2 separate regions of the Homo sapiens genome follow, and region 2 is linked to region 1. Evidence: promoter capture Hi-C in human tissues and cell types (Jung and others, 2019). All regions are on one chromosome and are shown on one strand. The core of a region is centred on a gene start or on the middle of the fragment in contact, and the rest is flanking DNA. Distances in the headings are between cores, read along the strand shown.

The links. Contacts are between HindIII fragments. The study calls those that stand out against the background at their distance.
Region 2: a contact is called between a fragment that was not itself captured here and the fragment with the promoter of KLHL14 in region 1, in 1 of the 25 tissues and cell types used here (dorsolateral prefrontal cortex).

What each region holds. Positions count from the first base shown.
Region 1 is chr18:32,770,493-32,775,120 of GRCh38, reverse strand. It overlaps KLHL14 (kelch like family member 14), which reads left to right and starts at 2,098. Exons shown (of 9, transcript NM_020805.3): 1 at 2,098-2,454; 2 at 4,487-4,628. The coding sequence starts at 4,530. It overlaps LOC105372055 (a long non-coding RNA gene), which reads right to left and starts at 4,445. Exons shown (of 2, transcript XR_935342.4): 1 at 2,834-4,445; 2 at 1,680-1,806. The HindIII fragment of the contact is 6,474 bases long and covers 1,277-4,628 here.
Region 2 is chr18:32,163,850-32,168,477 of GRCh38, reverse strand. No RefSeq gene overlaps it. Among named protein-coding and RNA genes, the nearest start is that of MEP1B, 24 kb to the left of the region's middle. The HindIII fragment of the contact is 5,135 bases long and covers 250-4,628 here.

The DNA of each region.
Region 1 (4,628 bases), core at 849-3,348:
CTATTATTGCCTTTGGGCTTAGTTCCAAATACTTCATGAGAAGTTCATAAAAGATCAACATCAAAATCATAATATAAAAATTGCACTTTACATGTATGAGAGTTTTGTGACACTCCACATACTTGATAGCTTTAATTGCTAGTGACACAGAACTCCAAAAATGTTCTATCTTAGAGTCACATGATCTTCCTGTTCAACACCCAAATAAGGGAAATTTAAACAAAAATCAAAACAATAATAGGGCCAGGAGAATTGTATAATCTGTTGTCTTTCTCTCCTCTGCCCTAAACAACAACAACAGCAAAATTCTTTTCTATGATTTAATCATGTATTGGGGCATTTCCACTATAAACATAAATATGAGAATGCAGCATCTCAACAGGATCTGAATAAAGAAGTCTTACTCTCAGATAATCTAGAACCTTGACAAAAAAAGTGGGGGGGCTTTGTGAGGGTTAAATGCTTCAGTTTGATCCTTCTTAATTCATTTAAGTGTGACTATCCCATGTGCACGTTAATGTTATCATTGTAAATGGGGAATCCCTATTTCTGAACCTCAGAATTTTTAATTTTCCTCCCTTTCCTAAGCAGGTGTCTTTCCATCTCTCACAAATCAAAGAGGATGATGGGGGGTCTGAATAGATGTCTTGCAATGGTGCCCTGATACGTATTTTAATAAGTTTACTAATCAGAGCACATATAAATTAGAATGAATCATAGTCATATAGTTAATAGCAAACAAAGCTCAATTTAGTTCATGTCCAGCTTTCTTCGTGTTCATTTTACTCAAGGGCATACCTTCCTTTTTCTGCTTCTTTTTTTTCTTTCTTTCTTGGACACCTCCAACCCCCATTGACAACCGAAATGCAGGGCTATAAACATAAGGGTGCAATACATCATGAGATAAGTCTGGAGAACATGTCCTCTACCAAAATGCACATGAATCTCTGGTACAGCTAAAATTCCAGAAACATGCTGGGGTTCCTTTTGCATGCTAAGCAGGGTCAAAAATGTGAGCACTATGTGGTTGCCCTTATATATCAGATGAGCTCTAAAGTTGAAAGGTTACATTTGTGAAATTGCGGCTGGGTTTCCTAGCACTTGATTCTAGCTCCTGCAAATCAAAGACTCCTAATTGAAATACAAATCCAACAATATGATAATCTTTCAGTAAAAAAAAAAAAAAAAAAAAAACGTGACTTCTGCACCCTTATCTGTTGAAGAGCTGACAGAGAAGTTCAGAGGCAGTTGTTTAACCAGACAAAATGATAGAGAAAATATGTTTTCAAATAAGATCATAAACCTTGAACAGTGCCTTGTGGGAAGCAAATGTAAAGCAAAGGGCTGTCCTCTATTCTGTCTACCAGCTCTACTCCCCCACCCCGGTGTGTATCCTCAGCCACTCACCTTTTAGGCAAGGGCTAGTGTCTTTCAGGACAGACCCAAACCCCAAATACCAAAACAGAATAAAGTAGTGTCTTAGCATACTTTGAGATCAGACTGTTTCTGCATTTCACAGTGCTGGGGGTGGGGGGGAGGTGTGGGGGGAAGGGAAAAGCAGCATACCAATGTAGTGAAATCTGGAAACAACAGCATATATACAGACACAAAAAAAGTTTGCATATTGCACAGAGCACTTGAAGATCATAAATCTATGCATGAGAAAGATGTAGTGGAAATTTTGGGGGGGATTAGAGTTTATTTTTGTCATCTCTGTGAGACAGCTACTCATTCATCCAGATCACAGCTAAGAAAAAAGCTGGTCACAGAAATTAGCAGTTTCAGCTCAGCAGCGAAGTCGCCAGCCTGTGAAGGCAGAGAGAAATTGACTAATTAGCAATGCGCACTAAAACTTGACGGTTCTTTATAGAGAGAGAGAAGAGAGAGGGAGAGAGAGGGAGAGGGAGGGAGGGGGGGCTCGCTTTTTCCCCTTCTTTCTTCCAAAGATGTTTGAAATCGCAGTCATTTACGCTCGACAATTTTTACAATAGCCTTGAGCCATAATTTTGCGAGTCTCTCCAGCATCCATCCCCCTGTATGGTCTCTCTCTACTGGCCAAGCACGACCGTTTCTCTCCCCAACCGTGGATTTCCTATTACTCTCGTTACGACTCACTGAGCCCCAGGCCCAAGGATAATGATGTGTTGTTTCTTGGTAGCATAATTTGTCACACGTACATTTTTTCTTCTTCTTCTCTTGCAGAAAGCTCTGCTCCCTCTCTCTCTCCCTCTCTCTTTCTCTCTTTTCTCCCTCTCCTACATTTTCTTGCTGTTGCTAATTCATGGTGATCAAATGATGTACGACAAAATAAATTGTAAAGAGTGACTGCCTGGAGTTGGGAACCAGAAGGTGTTTTCCCCCTCCCAAGGAGACAGCAAACCTTTAAAAAGGAAGGACAATTGATTTTTGGGGGGAGCTTAAGTGAGCCTTGACTTTGCAGCTGGTTGAGAACAGGTAAGTTTCTGGCCTTGTGTCTGCCTTGTGTGTATTTTGTTCTGTCTTTTGGATTGTTGGAGGGGGAAGGGCCGGGGAGGGAGTCTTTCAGAGGGGTTGGCGGGGGGGTAGTTGTATGGCAAACGCTCATAAAGAAAAAACTCCTATTGCAAGAAATAAGCAGATGAGGAGGAAAGGCAAGGGAGAAGAACAAGAAGGAAGGGGAATAGGAAAAGATGGGGCGGGGGGAGACAACGAAGCGGAGAGAGCTAGAGAGAGGTATGACCGGGTCCTCTTAAAGGGAGAGAGACTCTGTAAGATGTTTCAGGCAAGCCAGAGCTTTGGGGGCGGGCGTGGGGGTGCTGCCGGCGGAGGGAGCGCGAGGGAGGGTAGGGTCCACCTGGAACGGGATGGTAAAGTGAGTCGAAAGGAGCCCAGTCCGGTATAAATAGGAAGCCGGCGATCCAGGACCGGCGCCAGGCAGGGCAGAGTGAGCCGCAGTGGAAGGGGCAGGTCCGCCGGGATCCCTCCGAGCCGGGCGGCGGCGGCGGCTCTCCCCCGGGCGGGCGGGCCGGCGGGCCGGCGGGCCGGCGCGCGGGCGGGATGCAAGCAGAGGGTCCCTTTCTGCTCAGCCCTGGAAGGTGCAATTACAGGTTAAGGACCTGGCGTATCGATTTCGCCTCGCCTCCCCCACCCTGCCCTCCTCTGCCTAGATGCGGGCGGCTCAGACTTTTTACAGAAGTAGTTCCAGGGCCGGGGAAGTGGGGGTGCCCGAGTGGGGGGCCGCTGGGGGCTCTACCGAGGGGGTCAGAAGGGAGCTGCGGCTGCAGGCGACGATGCTGGGTGGGGCGCAGAGACCCCGCACCCCACTGCTCCCCCGCCCCCCCGCTCGTTCGACAGCCCCCACCCCTCCCCCAACACCTGCCTTCTAACTTGAACTTCTCATAGTTACTGGAGTTAAAGCGACTGCGCCTGGTGCCCGGGAGGGGAAACCGTGCACACGAATCCCTCCCGGCCTCCAGGCCTCCCGGCTCCCTCTCCAAACGCGTCCTCGCAGCCCCACTTCCTCCCCCTGAGTCCTCGGTGCCGCCCCTCGCTGGAAGGGGAGATTGATGCCTGAACTTCCGCGCTTTGAAATGAGCGAGACGGGGGAGAGGGGGCCACCGGGTGGGGGTGGCGGTGGTGGAAGGATTCTCCTGCCAGGTTTAAAGCCATCTCTGGAAAATTAGCCAAACTGAGTGGTGACGGGGAAGCCAACAGTTTGCGAAGCGGGGAAGCGGGCAGGGCCAGGTTGAGGGAAATGAGCTCGAATTGATAAGGACAGCTCCCGCCTCTGCCGATTCCACTGAGCGGGTCCTCACCGCGCTCCGCTGCACTTTCCCGGGAGAAGAAAGGGCTTTATCTCCTCCCTCAGACTATTAGCCTAGGAGTTTCTCGGGGCAGCATGGATAATCGAAGGGGGTCCCAGCTTTTGGAGAGCTAAGATTCGCACACCCCGCACGCTGGTCGGGCCCCTGTTCCTACCCCCTCCCCCAAACTGGGCCAACTGCGAAAAGCAAAGCTTCGGGCACAAGTTGACCTGGAACCTTCGCCGTCGGTCGCCTCTGAGCTTTCAGGGCACCCCCGGCTCCCCACTTCCCGGCCTTTCCCTTCATCTGGCCCGGCATGGACACGAGCCCACGAGGTGCCTCGGCCTCAGCCGCCACTTTGCCGTCGCTGCTGCCACTGCTGTTGCTGCCAACAGCCGAGCTGAGGTGGTTGGTTTTAGGAAAGTGAGGGACGAAGTGTGTGGGAGGTGGCGAGAGGAGCCGCAGGGCGCAGAACCGGCGCCGGGACCCCAGACAGGGCCCTTCTGGTGGCGCTCACGGATCCAGCGTCTTCGGACTTTCCTCCTAGGGTCGGGGTCCGGAGCGCGCCAGGAGGGAGTCAAGCTGAGCCTTGATTCTTGTTCTTCGCCCTCCCCTCCCCTCCACACCCTTCCCCACCCCGACCACACCCCACCCGCTCCACCACCCTGCTCCCCTCCCTCCCATCCCCCACCCCTGTCTGCCAGGTTGGAGGAGGGTTTAAAGCCAGGTGCACCGAGTCAGCTCGCCATGTCCAGATCCGGGGACAGGACCTCCACCTTCGACCCCAGCCACAGCGACAACCTGCTGCACGGCCTCAACCTGCTGTGGAGGAAGCAGCTGTTTTGC
Region 2 (4,628 bases), core at 1,568-4,067, 610 kb after region 1:
TGCTGTAACTTTTCCAATTGCTCTGTAAAGAAGATACTTCTCAATCTCTTTCTTAATCATCCATTATGCTGAATTTGGCTCTATTGAATATTTCTTCATTTTAGAAACTCTTTATGTCCTATTTACCCTGAAACCTCTCTCCCTTTTTCTCGAACCTTGCTGAATTCAGCCAGATTGGCAAACATGCCATATTCTTTTTATGATCTCAGTAGCTAGCAAGATACCTGACATATGGTAGGTACTCAACAAATATTTGCTGAACTAAACCAAACCAGGTCATGCCTTGACAAAGCTCCAAGAATTCTTACTCAGGTTCTTCCTCTGCCAGACCCTTGCCACATCTTCCCACACTACATTCATTCACTCAGTAAATATATGTGGAATGGCTATTAAGTGCCAAGATCTGTTCTGATAAGATAGAAATGTACAGAAAAGGCTTCTTTCCATACAAGAAACTAGGGAAGCAGAGTTAAAATAGCTACCTTGGTATTAAAAAAAAATTCTGGCTGAGCACAGTGGCTCATGCCTGTAATCCCAACACTTTGGGAGGCTGACATGGGTGGATCACTTGAGGCCAGGAGTTCAAAACCAGCCTGGCCAACATGGTGAAATCCCATCTCTACTAAAAATACAAAATTAGCCAGTGGCACACACCTGTAATCCCAGCTACTTGGGAGGCCGAGGCATGAGAATTGCTTGAACTGAGGAGGTGGGAGTTGCAGTGACCTGAGATGGCACTATTTGCACTCCAGCCTGGGTGAGAGAATGAGAGTCTGTCTCAAAAAATAAATAAATATAATAAACAATTTTAATATATATAGAGGCTACCATAAAGGAGCTACTCTACATACTCATTTTTTGAGATCAAATTTACTTGATAAACTTAATTTTATGATTACATAAAAGGGCAAAAAAAAATCTTTTCTGAGAGCCAAGGATACAGCAAAACAGGCAAAAATCCCTGCCTTGATAGAATTTACATTTCAAAGTAGGACACAGATAACTAAAATATAGAGCATGGGAGAAGGTGCTAAGAGATGTGGGGGAAAAAATAGGTTTATTAGGATTTGACCAGAGAAACAAGACCATTAAGAGGTATTCACAGTGGTGGGCTGGAGCTGGCTAGTACTGGCCTGAGAGAGCTATCAGCATCTTCTCTCTTCTCCCCATTCAGTGATGTCACATTGGTGGCTTGAAATTGGCCATGGTAAGAATATTTATACCAGGAAAATTGGCAAATGCTACAAATTAGGGTTTTTTTTTTCTTTTTCCAGAAAGCTGGTTGTTAAACATTTATCCGCATACCACAAACATAAACATGTGTAATGGCTTATTATAAGGACTTATTGTAGGGATTTGCCTACATGCAAATGTGGGGGCTGGTTAAACAGTCTATATGGAGGCTATTGCTTCTGTGTCAGGCACTAGTGCCTGAAATCAATAGGGCAGGTAGTCAAGAAAGGAAGATGGGCTGGGCGCGGTGGCTCACGCCTGTAATCCCAACACTTTGGGAGGCCAAGACGGGTGGATCACGAGGTCAGGAGATCGAGACCATCCCAGCTAACATGGTGAAACCCCGTCACTACTAAAAATACAAAAAACTAGCCAGGCATAGTGGCGGGTGCCTGTAATCCCAGCTACTCGGGAGGCTGAGGCAGGAGAATGGCGTGAACCCGGGAGGTGGAGCCTGCAGTGAGCCGAGATCGCGCCACTGCACTCCAGCCTGGGCGACAGAGCTAGACTCCATCTCCAAAAAAAAAAAGGAAGATGGTAATGAAGTAAGGGAAGCAAGATGGAACCTACACAGCTGAGCTGTAAACCAAGAGGATTGACTGGACTTCTTATGGCTCTCTCACCGTCTCTAAGCCTCCAATTTTGGTGATATGGAGGGTGGGAGGAGGCGTATTGAGGGAGAAGCTGGCCTCCTTCACCATGGAGCTAAACACATCTCTCACCTAACAGTCTGAAAAACTAAAGGAAGATCCAGCTAGAGCTAGAGGAGTGGTCAAGGGTCCAGCCACTGCCCTGTGCCAATCAGGCGAGCCAACAGGTAGCAACAATGCACTGAGCTGCACTAGTCTTCTAAGTGTAAAACAAGATGGTGGTTCCTTCAATTCTGCCTTCTAAGCATGTGAGACACATATCTGTGGCCCATGTGACTTCAGAGCTCTCCAGGGAAGAGAATCTGGGAATGATAACTCCAGCTCAGCTAAGTTAGCACAATATTCATCCACCATGGTTAAGAGAGGGAATAAAGAGTGTCGGGGGAAGGGTAGAAATATTCAATAGGATTGTCAGGGAAGGATTTAACAAGGAGGTGACATCTGAGTAATGATATGAAGGAAGTGAGGGGGCAAGCTCTGGGGATTTTTATGGGAAGAGAGTTCCAGCCATAGGAGATGGCAAATACAAGGCCTTGAGTTGTGAACACAACCAACATGTTCAAACAGCAGCAGGGATAACAGTGTGGCTGGAGGGAGCAAATGAAGAGAGTAGCAAGAGGGGAGGTCAATTTGTTTGAGTGCAGTAGAGAGAGGGAAGGGCTTGTAGGACATTCCAAGACTTTGGCTCCTACTCACTGTGGCATAAGGATCCACTGGATGATTTTCGAGCAGGGGAATAACAAGATCAAATGAGTCTTAGCAGGATTATTCTGGCGGCTCTATTGGGAATACACTGAAAGATTGACAAATGCAGATTATGAGGTTATTGCAGAAATCCACAGGGGAACTGAGGACAGCTTAGACCACGGGAGCCACAGTGGGGATGGTACAGAGAGGTCAGATCCCAGGAATATTTTGAAGGTGAAGTCCATGGAAATTTGAACTGGATGTGTAGTATCAAAGAAAAAGAGGAATCCAGGCCGGGCACGGTGGCTCACGCCTGTAATCTCAGCACTTTGGGAGGCCGAGGCGGGTGGATCACGAGGTCAGGAGATCGAGACCATCCTGGCTAACACAGTGAAACCCCATCTCTACTAAAAATACAAAAAATTAGCCTGGCGTGGTGGTGGGCACCTGTAGTCCCAGCTACTCAAGAGGCTGAGGCAGGAGAATGGTGTGAACCCGGGAGGCGGAGCTTGCTGTGAGCCAAGATTTTGCCACTGCACTCTAGCCTGGGTGACAGAGCGAGACTCTGTCTCAAAAAAAAAAAAAAGAGGAATCTAAGCTGAATCCAAGTTTTAGAGCTAAGCAACTATACCAATAAAGTTGCTATTAAATAAACCTGGAAAAGCATAAGGACAACTAAGCTTGGATGGGATAGGAGGAGGTCAGGAGTTCAGTTTCGACAAACTAAGTTTGAATTTTCTCTTAGACACCAAATTGGAAATGACAGTTGGATCTATGAAGAGGTAAGTACAGGCTAAAGATACCAATTTGGGAGTAACCGCATGCAATGAGAAATATTTAATGCCACAAGATTGGATGAGATCACCAAGGCATGAACAGAGAAGAGAAGGTACAAGGACTGGTCTCCACTAAAAGTTCAGGGACATGAGGAGAAACAAGCAAAAGAAACTAAGGGACTGAGCAGAGAGGTAGGAGAAGAACCAAGAGCTTAGTAGCCTCTGACTCCAGTGACAGAAGAAGGAGGAGGTGATCAGCTGAGTCAGGATGCTGCAGACAGGTCAAATTAGACAAGAACTGAGAGCTGTTTGTTGGATTTACCAAAATGGAGGTCTTTGGCTACCTTGTTAAGGACAATTTAGGCAGACTAGAAGCCATAAAAGCCATACCAGCATGAGTTCACATGAGAATGAAACAGAGAAGTTAGAGACGATGAGTACAGACAATTCTTTTGAGGTGTAAAAGGAAGGACAAAAATGGAACATGAGCTGGAAGGCAGAATGGGGTCAAGGGTTTTGGTTGTGGTTGTGGTCTTGGTTTTGTTCAAACTAGGAGAAATAATAGTATGTTTGTATACTGATAGGAATGATCCACAAAGAGGCTGGATTTTATGAAGGACAGAGGGAGAGGACAATTGCTGAAGCAATGTTATTTTAGGAGGTGAGAGAGGATGAGATCTGTTCCACTGTGGAGGGGTTGCACTCTGAGAAAAGTTACTTTCATCCATAGAAGACCAAGCACTTGAGGTCAGCAGACCGAGGTGGATAGGTAGGTAGGTGTGTGGGTAGGGAGATTGTGGAAGTTCTCTTATTATTTCTAACCTCTCATTTCTATATAAATGGGGTAAAAGTATCACCTGAATAGGGTTTTGGGAGAATTAAGTAAGTTAATACATATAAACACATAGGAGGGTTATAGTGAATGTTAGCAACTATTAGATATTATTCCATGTTAGTCTGGGTGACCTAATTTGTTCTCATGGTTTCGGTGACCTCCTATCCTTAACCTTCACATTCAAAATCCAATTCCTGCTGGACGTATCTCAAAATCAACTCATTTAGAACCCAATTCACTTTGTTCCTCCTAGGGAAAATCTATCTCCTGCAAGCTTCTCTCTGTTAATGGCTCCTCCCACTACCTGGGCACATCAATAGGAACACCTGAGTTTTCTGGATCTCATCCTGTCCTTCATATTCACACCTAAGCCATATCAAGCGTGGCTCATTCTTCCTCCTCAACATTTTGGAAACCCCCTTCTCTCCTCCCCCACCCATCATCCCT